Regions from separate parts of the Homo sapiens genome. Here region 2 is linked to region 1. Evidence: promoter capture Hi-C in human tissues and cell types (Jung and others, 2019). All regions are on one chromosome and are shown on one strand. Each heading gives the region's core, a stretch centred on a gene start or on the middle of the fragment in contact. The rest is flanking DNA. Distances are from core to core; before and after follow the strand shown. Region 1 holds the start of IMPA1 (inositol monophosphatase 1). Region 2 overlaps LOC101927040 (a long non-coding RNA gene).

Region 1 (7,562 bases), core at 478-2,977:
ACCTAATGCTATTAGACTGGGGAAATCCAGTAAGACCTGTCTGCTTAGATTCTTCTTGGCCTCTCTCCATAGGACCCTCTTTGGAATGGGGGTCTTATGACCTAAACTCAGACAGGGTGAGTCATATAATTTCTTCGTGGTCAGATTTTACATAGAAACACAGGGAGAATGCTAGAGTAATATCTATCTATCTATCTATCTATCTATCTATCTATCTATCTATCTATCTATCTATATCTCTCTCTCTATATATATATATTTTTTTTTTGAGACGGAGGCTCCCTCTGTCGCCCAGGCTGGAGTGCAGTGGCGCGATCTCCACTCACTGGAAGCTCCACCTCCCAGGTTCATGCCATTCTCCTGCCTCAGCCTCCCGAGTAGCTGGGACTGCAGGTGCCAGCCACCACACCCGGCTAATTTTTTTGTGTTTTTAATAGAAACGGGGCTTCACCGTGTTAGCCAGGACGGTCTCGATCTCCTGACCTCGTGATCCGCCTGCCTTGGCCTCCCAAAGTGGTGGGATTACAGGCGTGAGCCACCTTGCCTGGCCTAGAGTAGTATTTTTATGTTTTATGGCTGGCTTTATAAAAAAGGGGTCCTGATTTCTGGGACCTGATTTGGGAAAGAGGAATTCTAGCTTCTATGACTAGTCTGGGGAAGAATGTGGGACCAGAGACAGGAGACCAAAAGGAGTCAGAGGAAAATTTTTCCTTCTAAGGCTGCTTCTGAGGCCTTCATTGTGGGGTATCATTTTCTGAACCCCAAAACTTTGAACTCAGTGTGTTTCACTCTCTGCTCTTGCTGTGTGACCTGAGGACAAATCACTTAACTACTCTGAGCCTCAGTTTCCTCATCTGTCTGACAAAGCTAATCATACCTTTTTCAAGAAACTGTTAAAACTTTAAGGAAAATAATGCATATAAAAACACATTTCGGCCAGGCGTGGTGGCTCATGCCTGTAATCTTTGGGAGGCCGAGGTAGGCGGATCACTTGAGTCCAGGAGTTTGAGACCAGCCTGAGCAACATGGTGAAACCCCGTCTCTACAAGATACAAAAATTAGCCGGGCGTTGTGGCAGGCGTCTGTAATCCCAGCTACTCAGGAGGCTGAGGCATGAGAATCGCTTGAATCCAAGAGGCGGACGTTGCAGTGAGCCGAGATCGCGCCATTGCACTTCAGCCCGGGCGACAAAAGTGAAATTCCGTCTCAAAAAAACAAAACAATAAAACCCCACACAATTGCTTGAAGCATAGTAAGTCCTCAATAAATAGTATGTAAGTAAATTATCAAGAATTGGGCAGTTGGTTCTGGTTATCAGTTTATTTTTTTTTAATCTAGTATAGGTTTACCAGCTTTAGGTTAGCACCTAAAAGCTGCATAATCGGAATCATATCTGCAATCTGGGTTTTGTCAAAATAGTACTATAGAATAAATGGGAGAAAGAAGAAAGCAAGCTAAATGGGAAACCGTGAATGAATGGAGGACGAAAGAAGAAAAAGGCAAAGTAAAGAGAGAAGTAATGTTTAAAAACTGAGAGATGAAAAGACAAGCAGGAGAAAAGAACCAGAAGCTAGAATGAAGAGGCAGTATCCCATGCTCCAGCGCGGGTCAGGACCCGGCCCGGCCTGGCAGAGGCTCGCAGGGCGCAGCTCGGGGCGGGGCCCAGCAAAGCAACCACGCCCCCTCAGGAATGGAGTTTTTAAGGGCGGAACTTCCTGTTGCGAGTAGCCCCTCTACCTCCGGAAGAGACGAGTGCGGTAACACCGTTCACAGAGCTAGCCGGACGTCCTCCGACTCAAGGTGAGACCGTTATTTTCCTCACCGCACCCTCCGGGTTCAGCGGGCGCTGTGGGTTTCCAGGGAGGCCCCTTCCCTCCTCAGGAGCGGGCGCGAGCGCCGTGCGCGGTCGGCGCCTAGGGTGGAGGCAGCCTCTGGGTGACCCCTGCCTGCTGCGTTATCCGGAGCTGCCCTGGGCGACCGGGAACAGTTCCGGCATTGGAGTAGCGGTTCGCTCACGCGACCTCACTTAACCTCTGTGGCGGCTTCTGTGGAATAATTGCCCCTTTTTATGTCCCCAACTCCGAAAAGCTCCTAGAAACTTGGTGCATCCCCAGGCCCAGGTAGTCACTCTAAGTGATGGGGCAGCGCCCAGGTCCTGTGCTGCCCGCAGTCGCGGTGCTGGGACAGGTGGCAAAAAGGAAGGTGGCCTGGCTCCTACGCTGGAAGGCTGTGACCAGGACAGAAACAGCAGGAAACAGTTCAGGTGTTTATGGCTTTGGGAAAATGAAAGTGAGTAAACTACGGACCCTGCCCATCAATAAATGTACTGTGATTTATATATATATAACTATTCATATATTATATATAACTATATATAAAAATATATATAAAATGTACTTATATACTTTATATATAGTACATAAATATACTTATGTATAGTATATATACTTATATATAGTACATAAATATACTTCTGTATACTTATATATAGTACATAAATATACTTACGTATATATACTTATATATAGTACAGAAATATACTTACGTATATATACTTATATATAGTACAGAAATATACTTAGGTATATATACTTATATATAGTACAGAAATATACTTAGGTATACATACTTATATATAGTACCTAAATATACTTAGGTATATATACTTATATATAGTACATAAATATACTTACATATATACTTACATATAGTATATAAATATACTATATGTATAGTACATAAATATACTATGTATAGTATATATACTATATATACTATATATAGTATCTATACTTATGTATAGTATATATAGTATCTAAATATACTTATGTATAGTATATATAGTATCTAAATATACTTATGTATAGTATATATAGTATCTAAATATACTTATGTATAGTATATATACTATATATAGTATCTAAATATACTTAATGTATACTATATATAGTATCTAAATATACTTATTTATAGTATATATATCTAAATATACTTATGTATAGTATATATACTATATATAGTATCTAAATATACTTACGTATAGTATATATAGTATCTAAATATACTTATGTATAGTATATATACTATACATAGTATCTAAATATACTTATGTATAGTATATATACTATACATAGTATCTAAATATACTTATGTATAGTATATATACTATACATAGTATCTAAATATACTTATGTATAGTATATATACTACACATAGATACTATGTATAGTATATATACTCCACATAGTATCTAAATATACTTATGTGTAGTATATATACTCCACATAGTATCTAAATATACTTATGTGTAGTATATATACTCCACATAGTATCTAAATATACTTATGTGTAGTATTTATACTCCACATAGTATCTAAATATACTTATGTGTAGTATATATACTTATGTGTAGTATATATACTTATGTGTAGTATATATATACTAGATATATATATCTAAAGATACTTATGTGTAGTATATATACTACACATTAGTATCTAAAGATACTTATGTGTAGTATATATACTACACATAGTATCTAAAGATACTTATGTGTAGTATACTGTAGTATCTAAAGATACTGTGTGTAGTATACTATATATAGTATCTAAATATACTTATGTATAGTATACTATATATAGTATCTAAATATGTATGGTATATATACTATATATAGTATCTAAATATACTTATGTATGGTATATATACTATATATAGTATCTAAATATACTTATGTATGGTATATATACTATATATAGTATCTAAATATACTTATGTATGGTATACTATATATAGTATCTAAATATACTTATGTATGGTATATATACTATATATAGTATCTAAATATATAGTATATAAAGTATATTTACTGTATTATATATGTGTATGTGTGTGTATGTGTGTGTGTGTGTGTATGTGTGTATGTGTGTGTGTGTGTATATATATATATATATAGTTTGCATCCACCATTCCTGGCTCATAACTCCCATAGCCCTTGACAGGAATCTTGGCCCACCTTTCTGTCTTAGAACTAGCCATGAAGAAATTCTCTGACCTACCTTGTCTGACTGTAGATCGTAAGACCTCCATTTCACAAGGGGTCTTGCCCCATATACAGGAGAAAGGAATGCTGGACAGAGAGGCCAAGATGAATCCGAATGGACAGTCCTTGCTGGGTTTCCACAGTCAGTCTGTTCCATTTGGATCATACTGATTTTGTGGGATCACATTTCTACACAGTTGTCAATCATGCCTATCCAGTGATTATCCAGACTCAGGACCTCAGTTGCTGTCTACTCAAGTAACTTACATGTTTCTACATGGAGGCCATACCTCTCCTGTGAGCTCAGGATCCATGATTCAGCTGCCTAACTGACATCTTTTGATTTTACAGAGGCCTCTCATCTTCCGCTAATTAAACTCCTGATCTCTCAAACTCCTACCTATATCCCAAACTTGACTCTTTTTTTGTTGCTCCCTGTTTCAGTAGACTGTGACGGTTATCCATACAGTTGCCAGAGTGGGAAATCTGGACATCCAGATTCAGAGGAAATCTGAACTCTTCCTGTCCCTGGTACTCTGTAGCCAATCTGTTAGATTCCCTCAAAACAGGTATCTCTGACTCTCTTAACTTCTCTACCAGCAAAACTTCCCTCCCAGGTTTCAGCCAATCATCAGGTATCCTCCCACTACTGCATCCTGAATGTAAATCTGCTGACCCTCTACCAACACCCACTTTCTACCCTTCTGTTGAGTAGCCACAATGAAGTGATTCTTGAAGCCCCTTCAATCAATGTCTTATCCCTAAGGCCCCCCTGTAGAGGATGATCCCCACTACCTCCCCAGCTTTATCTCTCCTGTTTCCCTTAATCTGAGCTGTCACTCTTAGGCTGTTCAGTTAGTCTTCATGTACCAGGCATCCTGCAGTTGATTGAGTTCATGCCTGTTCACTTGTTCTCATCTTGGTTTAATCTTGTCTTCAGGGAAACCTGATCTGATGCCTAAGTCCAGGTGAAAGCTCCCCTGTTAGATGCTTCTCATTGCACTTCTTCTCCTTAACTTATATTATTCCAGTTGTTATTTTGCATGTAGTCTTTAGTTTTTGATTGATATTGAGTCCCCTCCTAGAAAGTGTGAACAGGACCTGATTTTCCTCCCCATGGTGCAGTGTATAGCATACAATAGGTATTCAGTAAACATCTATTGAAGGATGAAGGACATAGTGACTTCTGGGTGGAGAATCCCTAGAAGTAGCTTTTGAAATGGGTCCTGAAGAATTTGTAGAGTTACATTAGTGCTGTTAGAAGGCGGGGGTGTGAGTGGCTTGAGCTGTTTCTGGCAGGAAAGCAGGTACAGCTTGAGAACATCTAGTTCTGTTAAGACTAGTGGAGCAGAATGGGAGTAAGAGTGAAAAAAAAAAGTTTGGAAACAATTCTTGAAGAGCTTGAAGGAGTTGCTTATATGACTCATAGAGTGGCTTCCTTTAAAACAAAATTTTAAAAAATGCTTTAATCAGGAAGAAAAAGCATCAGGAAGAAATTTAGCGTGTGGGTCTTTTGCCCTCCTTTCCACTCCTGTCCTCTTTCCTATAATGTGGGCCCCAAGATAGGAGTTTCTGAATAGTCTTCAAGATGTAACTCTGTGTCTATTATTTTCTATTGGAAAGGAGACAAAATTAGGGTTGTTTTATAAATGGTGCCACAGTTTTTAGTCTGACAGCTTAAAAAGCTTTACTGTGCTAGGTACAGACTTCAGAGTGTGATCAAGCCAGTGGTGAGTTATTTTAGTCTTCAGAAGTCAGTGGAAAACTGGACAGTTTAGAACACAAATATATGTTGGGTTTTTTTTTCCCTCTGTGAAACTCAGGGAAATAAATTTGCTTTTTTCTTATTTTTTTTGGTCCTGGAATTTTCTTTTCTCAGAATGTTATAATAGAAAGAAAAATGGACTTTAAAATCAGAATTGAATTCAAGTTCTGTGTCATTTGTCTGTAATTTTGGGCAAATTATTTCTCATCTCTGAACCTTAAGTTCTTCATCTTTACACATAATTTTTTCAAGTACCTTTTGCTGCTTCCCTTCAAGCTTCTTTTATTTCAGTATTCCCAGTGTTCTTTCTCGTTTTCACTGTATTCTCCTCCAAAATATTATCCTAACTTTTAAAGTATTTCTTGTGTTGTTTCTTATCTATTCTCCAAACGAATGTTTTGGTTTTTTAAAAAAATGTAATATGGTACAGACACACTGGGAAGCAATTTCATAGAATAGTCTTTATGAAAATAATTTGATATAGAAATTAGGTAATTTAGGTGAGAAATGTTTTTTACTGGGTATAGGCATAAATCTTGGGAAAAACTCTAGGGCAGGGGGTGAATCCTGAAATGACAGTCTGTTTCTAATTAAGACGTTTTTGTGAACTAACTATTCTATAATTAAGACTTCTAAGACAGTTATAACTACTTTGTACAGATATTTGTCAAATATTTTCAGAAGATGGCTGATCCTTGGCAGGAATGCATGGATTATGCAGTAACTCTAGCAAGACAAGCTGGAGAGGTATGAGCTAAGATTTTGTCAATTATAATCAATTATAATGTGATTGGTGGGTATACTGTGTTGTTGCCTTGTTTTGTTTGTTTCGATTTGGTTTCTTTTTTTGAAACGGTCTTGCTTGTCACCCAAGCTGGAATGTAGTGGCAGGAACATGGCTCACTCCAGCCTCAACTTCCCAGGCTGGGCTCAAGTAATCCTCCCACTTCAGCCTCCTGAGTAGCTGGGACTACAGCAGGCATGAGCCACCATGTCCAGCTACTTTTCATTTTTTAAATTTTTGTGTGGAGATGAGGGTCTCGCTGTGTTGTCCAGGCTGGTCTTGAATTCCTGGACCACCTTGGCCTCCCAAAGTGCTGGGATTACGTGCGTGAACCACCATACCCAGCCTGCCTTGTTAAATAAAATATACACTTTGATCAATCTACATTTATTTTCATTTTACTAAATACTCTTGCGTGTATACCCTAATTTTATATGATAAAATTTTCTGTGATGACAGTTGTGAATCTAAAATAAGATGTAAGATTATATAATTTTTGTTTTTAGAAAGACGTAACTATTAAAGGCTTATTTTATAGATATATTTGTAAGACATTTTTAAGAATGTCTTTAAAGAATATTATTTAAGACAGATTGAATGTCTTAAACCATTTATGTATTTTATCTTTTTGTTTAAAATTATGCCTTTTCTATTTGCTTACCAAAACCTCTTTTTAGGTAGTTTGTGAAGCTATAAAAAATGAAATGAATGTTATGCTGAAAAGTTCTCCAGTTGATTTGGTAACTGCTACGGACCAAAAAGTTGAAAAAATGCTTATCTCTTCCATAAAGGAAAAGTATCCATCTCACAGGTATTTTTATTTACTGTGTACAAGAAATGTTTATTATCTCACCATTTCTTGGGGTTCTGCATATGAGAGTAGCTTGACTACACGGTTCTTGCCAAGGTCTTCCATGAAGTTACAGTCAAAGTGTTGGTCAAGGCTGCAGTCAACTGAAGGTTGGACTGGA
Region 2 (6,879 bases), core at 223-2,722, 1.9 Mb after region 1:
AGTTAGACTGGGCCATTTCCAGCACGCCCCTCGTCACCCCGTGCCTGTGCAGTGTCACCTACTTCTGATAACAGCCTTGGACTGAGGGCGCAGGAGAGAGTGGTTTTATGCCACAGATACTTCATTCGTCAATGCTGTCTTCCAAATCTTTCTCCTCATGTCCATTATCACAGGCCTAGAACAATTGTTTTTATTAGACAGTTTAATACATTGCCTCTTAGACCAGCAGGCGAACCCGAGCATCTTTCTGACTCCTGTGCTGTCATTAACATGCTTCTTAATTCAGAACAGCTGTTCCTCCTCCCACTCCTCCTCTCTCCCAATCTTTGCTCCTTAGACAAACTTTGCTTATTCAGAAACTTTGGGAAAAAAGATTTTTGAGTAAATGAGAGTTCTGGAAACATAAGGATTTGTCTCTTTCAGCATGGACTTTTTAATTTTAAACATTTTTGATGAAAATCTTTCCAAAATACATTGTTTAGTACCTTCTTAAACAGAGAAAATGGATGAAATTTAATTTTTTTCTTGATGCCTTGGGATCATGACAGTGAACAAGATTTTGTTACTCTGCTGCAATGCAATAGGGCACATAAAGGGTCCCAAATTTTCAGATTCTGAAGTTATTTTGAAAACTTTTAAATATACTCTCGTCTCCCTGCTTTTCATCAGTCCATTGACCAATCACTCTGGTTATCAATGCACCTATTTCCAGAAATTCTTCTACCCTAATTTTCTGATGTTCAGTGTTTACTGTGAGCATAGAAGACCAATATAGACACACACTTACACGTGTGTGCATGCAGATGTGCATTAGAACTGTGTGTAGAGAGGTTTGAGGAGGTACCTGAGAGTTTCCTATGAGTAAATGGAATATGTTATGAGTTCTCTGTTTTGGTTTTCCAGAGACTGCTTTTGTTAAATTTTTTGCTCATTTTAGGAATAGAAAGTTGCAAGACAAATGAGTTTAATAATGATGAAAAGCTCCCAGATTTCTAGGAGCTATCTATCTTTCTAGAAAGTTCTTCCTCGGTTCATTTTTTTTTTTTTTTTCACTTAATGCAAGTATAGGCAATGGTTACTAAAAGGAGATTCCTTTTATGAGAGGCTTGTCATTTCATTATCCCAACTTCACATACAAATGATTTCATTATCTTTAAAAATGTTGTCGTGATATTCTCAAACTATTGTCATTTAAAAAAAAAACCCACCAGGTGCAAAAACAAACTGCAACCACAACAGCTAAATCTGTCTCTTTCTCTCATTGTCCTCTTTGGCAAAGATCTGTGGAAAGCTGAATAAATGAACAGGGCCATTTGACAGAGTGTAACCCACACCAGACCTGTTGTGCAATGCCTTGAACGTAAGTCCTTTTCAACTAAACGGAGGTATATTTTCTTTTATATTGTTGACTTTGACCCTGAAGCTTAGCAAAGAACACTTGTGCAACATTTTCTGGATCAATTTATCATCTGCTCAGAGCAGACATGCATTTTTTCTCATCATTAAAGGGAAACCAAACCCATCAACATAATCCCCGATTCTGCTTTGTTTCTTCCCAGTCCTTCACATTGTAGATTCTGAAATATTAATGAAGAGATGTGAAAGTAATGTGCTCTATTCTCACACCCAGCCCCAGTGGGAGGAAGGATATGGCCAGGGAGTAGGAGAATGAGAAATGTCCTCGTTTTGCAAAACAACGTTGCTCAAAGTCAGGTTGTTGGATTCTATCTCTGAATATCCCAAGGTGGTGATCTAAAATCCAGATTTCTGGGCTAATCTATACCTATGGAATCAATATTTCTGGAGGATGAGGCTTTGTCATTTACATTTTAAATGGATGCATTTAAAACTGATTGGACTAGATGGTGTCCGAGCTTTTTCCTTACTTAACAAATCCTATGCTGCTGGCTCTTATGTGAATACTGATAATAAACTGCTTACAGGCTGGGCATCATGGATCATGCCTGTAATCCCAGCTATTTGGGAGGCCAAGGCAGGAGGATCGCTTGAGCTCAGGAGGTTGAGACCAGCTTGGGCAACATAGTGAGAACCTGTTTCTATGTAAAAAAATTAAATTTAAAAATGTACTTACAGAATACTCATAATGAACTTTATTATTGTAAGAATAATAACTTTTGACTGTATAGCAGCATTTTTAACTTTTCAAAGTGTTTTCCTATTTTCCTATATATAACCCCCCAGAGGGGGGCAGGGGAGGTCTCATTACCTCCATTTTAGAGATGTAATAAAGTCCCCGAAGCTTAATGACTTGTGCCAACTACATCATAACTTAGTGGTCAGGAGTCAGGACTGGCACACAGGTCTTCTGACCTCATTTCACTGTACATTTGGTGTTCTAAGATCCAAGACACAAGAGGATGCTTTATTAAAGTGTCCTTTAAAAACGGACTTGAGCCGAAATCAGCGCCTTCCAAGCTTCTCCACATGCTGTTGAGTGTGCTGTGCATTTGCTCCTGAGAGACGAAAGCACAGATAAAGATGCCCTGCACACTGGGAGAGAAATGGGAATCTTCAAAACAAAGGAATCTCATTCCTCTTCTGTTCATCCCCTTCAATTTTCTGATCCTTTCCCTCCACTCCCTCTTTCTTGTAAAGACTTAAACTCTGAAATAATTATATGAAATTAAGTCGGTAAAAGCCAGGCTCGTTTCCTTAAGATTGATGTGTTAACATTTGGGGCAGTTTTCTCAGGACTCAGGGAGACGATTATTTCTGAGGTTGGCTGCGGGAAGCTTCCTCTTCTCTAGGGAGGGGTGAGGTTCCCTCCCAGGACACCTCCCTCCGTGACACAGCCTAACTGTTAGCAGAAGTTCATAAAAAAAGTTGGTTGATTTTTTTAAGTGCTGGAGACTTTTCTCCTTTTAATTCCGGTCATAACTACCCACTGTCCAAAAAAAGGAGACACAGCAGGCTCTAAACTCTCTCTGAGACTGAATGCAAATTGAGTGTCTGGGAGTCTGAGGGAGGTGCGGGAAACACTTTCCAGCTCCACTGTCCTGTTTTTATCTGTAGATCAAGATAAGCGAGCGGGTGGATTGTTAGCAAAAAGGAATCTCTTCATGCAAATTATAATTCTCTTAAAAAAAAATAAGCATGAAGGTGTGACCCTGCCTGTCACTTATCAATCTGTGCAGTAAAACTAATGGAAGGTTGGAAGACTGGGATCCTTTGCATTGGAAAATGGCTTGAGTGCCCGTGCTGAAGCCACGCTGAATTTCCCGTGTTCCTGCAGCAGCCTGGGAGGAGACCGGCAGGGTCACATTCTGGTGGTGCCTGCCTGCCCTGACACATCATTTCTAATTATGATGCCTTTGTAAACCCCTTCCCTTTTGCTTCATAGGGCTTGTAAAAGGTACCCGCAAACCTCTGCCTTCCTGTGCCTCTCTGCCCCGAGGTAGAAATCCTCCTCTTGCAGGAAGTGCAAAGCAAAGTTCAAAGCTTTCTTAGTCAAAAGAAAGTGCGCCTGATCCAGGATAACATGATTAGGCAACAATTAGACCAGAAAAAAAAAAAAAAAAAAAAAAGCCAGGGCCCTGCATCACTGGCCAGTGCTGGCCTTCTGCAATCTCTGCTCTTCTAAAAGATACTTATTATTTCCTTGTTCAGTATGAAGATGCAAACCCAAATTGAATACCATTTAGGGTCAAAGCCACAAGCAGCTTTGGGCTGTCAAGGGATGGAGAGCTCTGATGAGTCTGTGATGGAATGTCCCCACCAAACACAGAGGCTAAGGGATGGAGCTTAAGAGAGGGATGACAAAGAAAGGAAGCAAGGGTCCACAGACCCAGGGCAGGCCCTGTCGCTCTGGTGACTTTCTGAATGACTGCCAGACTTGTTTCCCCCCTATAAGACAAGCCCAGTTCAACCCACGTTAAAAGGGGGTTAAAAGAGGTCATAAATCTTTCTGGGCACTGAAGATCCATGGAAAACGTGGCCTGATGTCTCTGACATCTGTTTTGGGTTCTCAGCCTCAGCTGGCCCCACTGCCCTTTCTCCTGCGATGACTCACAGGCCCCATTCAGGCCACCGAGTGGCAGGTATAGAGTGTCTCACCTCGGAGTACTGGGGATGAGGGGTGAGCGTCCGGGCAGCAGGCGAGCCCCCAAGGCTGGCCCGCTGACACCGTAAGTCTATACCCAGGGGCTGGTGGAGGGGAGGCTGTGGGATTGATGGTGTAAATGGGCAGCACACACAGCCTGCAGAGGGGAGGCCGGCGGTGGGTGGGAGAGCGCTGGCTGAGGTTGGTCACACGGAGATTGAATTTCAGCTGAATTAGATCAGAGCTGTGGGAAACAGCACCTCCTTCACACACACAGCCGGTCTCATAGGAAGATGTGGGAGGGCGGCTGGGGAGACAGAGGCAGGCAGCTGCGATGAAATACCGAAGTCCGCTCACAGCAGCTAACAGCTAACTTAATTACTCTACTACCTCTCCCCAGCGCACTGGCCAGAATTCGCAGACCCTAGGGTTTTAGACTGAAACGCTCCATGGTGCCAGGGAAAGATGGGGTGGTCAGCATTTAAAACACACCATGGTTTGGGAGTGAGGCTGCGTGTCTCTCTAAAGGAGGAAAAGCGTGATTATGAAAGTACAGGAAAGGCAGGGAACTTTTAGATCCACAGCTGCAGAAGGCAAACTCCGGAAAGGACTTACGTGGCTTTCACTGCTACCTTTAGGGTTTGATGTTTTATAGCATTTTATTAACATGCAACGCAAGCTCTCAATACCGTAACTGTGTTCGCTGCTGCTGCTAGGAACTGTTCCTCTAATCCCCTTTCTCTGCTTAATAACCTGACGCCATTTCAGTGACCCAGAATACCAGCTTTTCTTGGGAGGCCTTGGAGGAGTGGAAAATTGGGAGAAAGTTTTAGAATTAAAATGGGAACACTTGCAGTCCTATTAAAAAGGGCAAGAAGTCAGCTGCTTTGAAATCCACCCCCTCAGCAGGGGTGGGGAAAGCCTTTCCAGGAGACAGTGGGAACACATTTGTTCCCTAAGCTGGCACCAGAGTGGCTTTCTCCAGGGCAGCCAGGGCCTGGCATTCTGTATACGCCATTTGAATCAGGGAGCCTTCAAATGATCCTTTTTTCTCTTCCTGTCACTCAACAACAGGCTGGCGGCAAAAATTTCTACGGCAGTTTCTCTTGAACCAGGCAGAAAACAACCCCTGAGGCTGCTCGGTGCTCCCTAGTCTCCTGGTTTGCATTGCACATCCATTTTGAGCCTGCTGCTACTGATGAGAAAATGACCTCAAACAACTGCCCACTAAAGGTCCCATGTTGTGACGATGCCGGGGGCTTTCTGCATAGCGCTCCGCTTCTCAGACTGAGCAGCTTCTGGAGTTTTGTACAATGCCTGGGCCTGAGGAAACCTGCCAGGATATTCCTGGTAGGATGAATGATCACCCCCCCGTAACAGACAGAGACACCCAGAGCAGAGACAGAGTTCACACTGTGGGATCTGACTCAATGTTTGAATTCTTAGGAGCTCACCACTTCATTGGATTTCTCATGACTGAAAAAAAGAGACCACTAGAATCTGGATGAGATGAGAATTTAGGTGCTGTTTTAGATTCCCCTAGATTAGGTGGATACCCAAAAGAGTGTGTGGAAAAACTGCAGGGAGGGCCGGGCGCGGTGGCTCATCCCTGTAATCCCAGCACTTCAGGAGGACGAGGCAGGCGGATCATCTGAGGTCAGGAGTTCGAGACCAGCCTGACCAACATGGAGAAACCCTATCTCTACTAAAAATACAAAAGTACCCGGGCATGGTGGCACATGCCTGTAATCCCAGCTACTCTGGAAGGCTGAGGCAGGAGAATCGCTTGAACCCAGGAGGTGGAGGTTGCAGTGAGCCAAGATCGCACCACTGCACTCCAGCCTGGGCAACAAGAGTGAAACTTGGTCTCAAAAAAAAAAAAAAAAAAAAAAACCTGCAGGGAGTCTGAGTCCTCTGAAATGGGATGAAAAATTTATATGTAAAAATTGTGTATATTTCCTCCAGCCCCAGGAAGAGAGCCCTGTGTATTCTGTTGGACAGATCTGCTGATTTTCAAGTTTCCAAGACTCCTCCAGACTTAAGAAGTACTGTTTTATATTAAATATTTTGCAAAGGTAATTTTAAGAGGGAGCATTGGTTTCCCTCAATCACAGGCTCTGCAAAATACAATGCGCTGTCTACTGTATACTTTGCCACATGGAGCCTGGCTGCTTGACTCATGTAACTCAACGTAAACAGTAACTGGGAGAGGACACACACGAGCAGGCAGGGTATGCCCACAGGGTCGCTGCTTGACATGGCTATGCTGCGGCTAGCGTATGGCTCTCCCTTGGATGGATCTATTCTGTTAATACCTCTGTCCCAGAATTTGTAGTCCCAAAGTGGTGCTCTGGGAGGACGTATTAATGAAAAGAAAGAGCATAAATGAGAACCTTAAAGAGTTTACAGGGTTCAGGCTTGATAAACCTCTTGGGTAAGAAAGGTAGGTAGATATAGAGCAAGATTTGCATCCATCACATTGGGAAGAATGTACACTGGCCTGTGGGTACAAACCCCTTTCTGCCAGGTAGGGAAGGTTCTTGGGGGAAAGGTGGTTGTCATAATACATCTTAAACAATAACAAAGATAACAGAATCCCATAGTTTCCCTTTCTGGAGTTGATGTTTGGATGCAAATTACAGGCATGTTTTGCCTTAAACAAATCCAGTGTTAGGCCGGCGCGGTGGCTCATGTCTGTAATCCCAGCACTTTAGGAGGCCAAAGCAGGCAGATTGCTTGAGCTCAGGAGTTCAAGACCAGCCTGGGCAACATGGCAAAATCCTGTCTCCACAAAAAAATACAAAAATCAGACCAGGCAC

What was found. Contacts are between HindIII fragments. The study calls those that stand out against the background at their distance.
Region 2: a contact is called between a fragment that was not itself captured here and the fragment with the promoter of IMPA1 in region 1, in 1 of the 25 tissues and cell types used here (mesenchymal stem cells).

Annotation. Positions count from the first base shown.
Region 1 is chr8:81,680,490-81,688,051 of GRCh38, reverse strand. It overlaps IMPA1 (inositol monophosphatase 1), which reads left to right and starts at 1,727. Exons shown (of 9, transcript NM_005536.4): 1 at 1,727-1,800; 2 at 6,468-6,554; 3 at 7,269-7,402. The coding sequence starts at 6,492. RefSeq lists an enhancer at 1,481-1,981. The HindIII fragment of the contact is 9,069 bases long and covers 1-5,905 here.
Region 2 is chr8:79,824,982-79,831,860 of GRCh38, reverse strand. The region is part of intron 2 of LOC101927040 (a long non-coding RNA gene); the gene reads left to right. Among named protein-coding and RNA genes, the nearest start is that of LINC01607, 60 kb to the right of the region's middle. The HindIII fragment of the contact is 3,269 bases long and covers 1-3,106 here.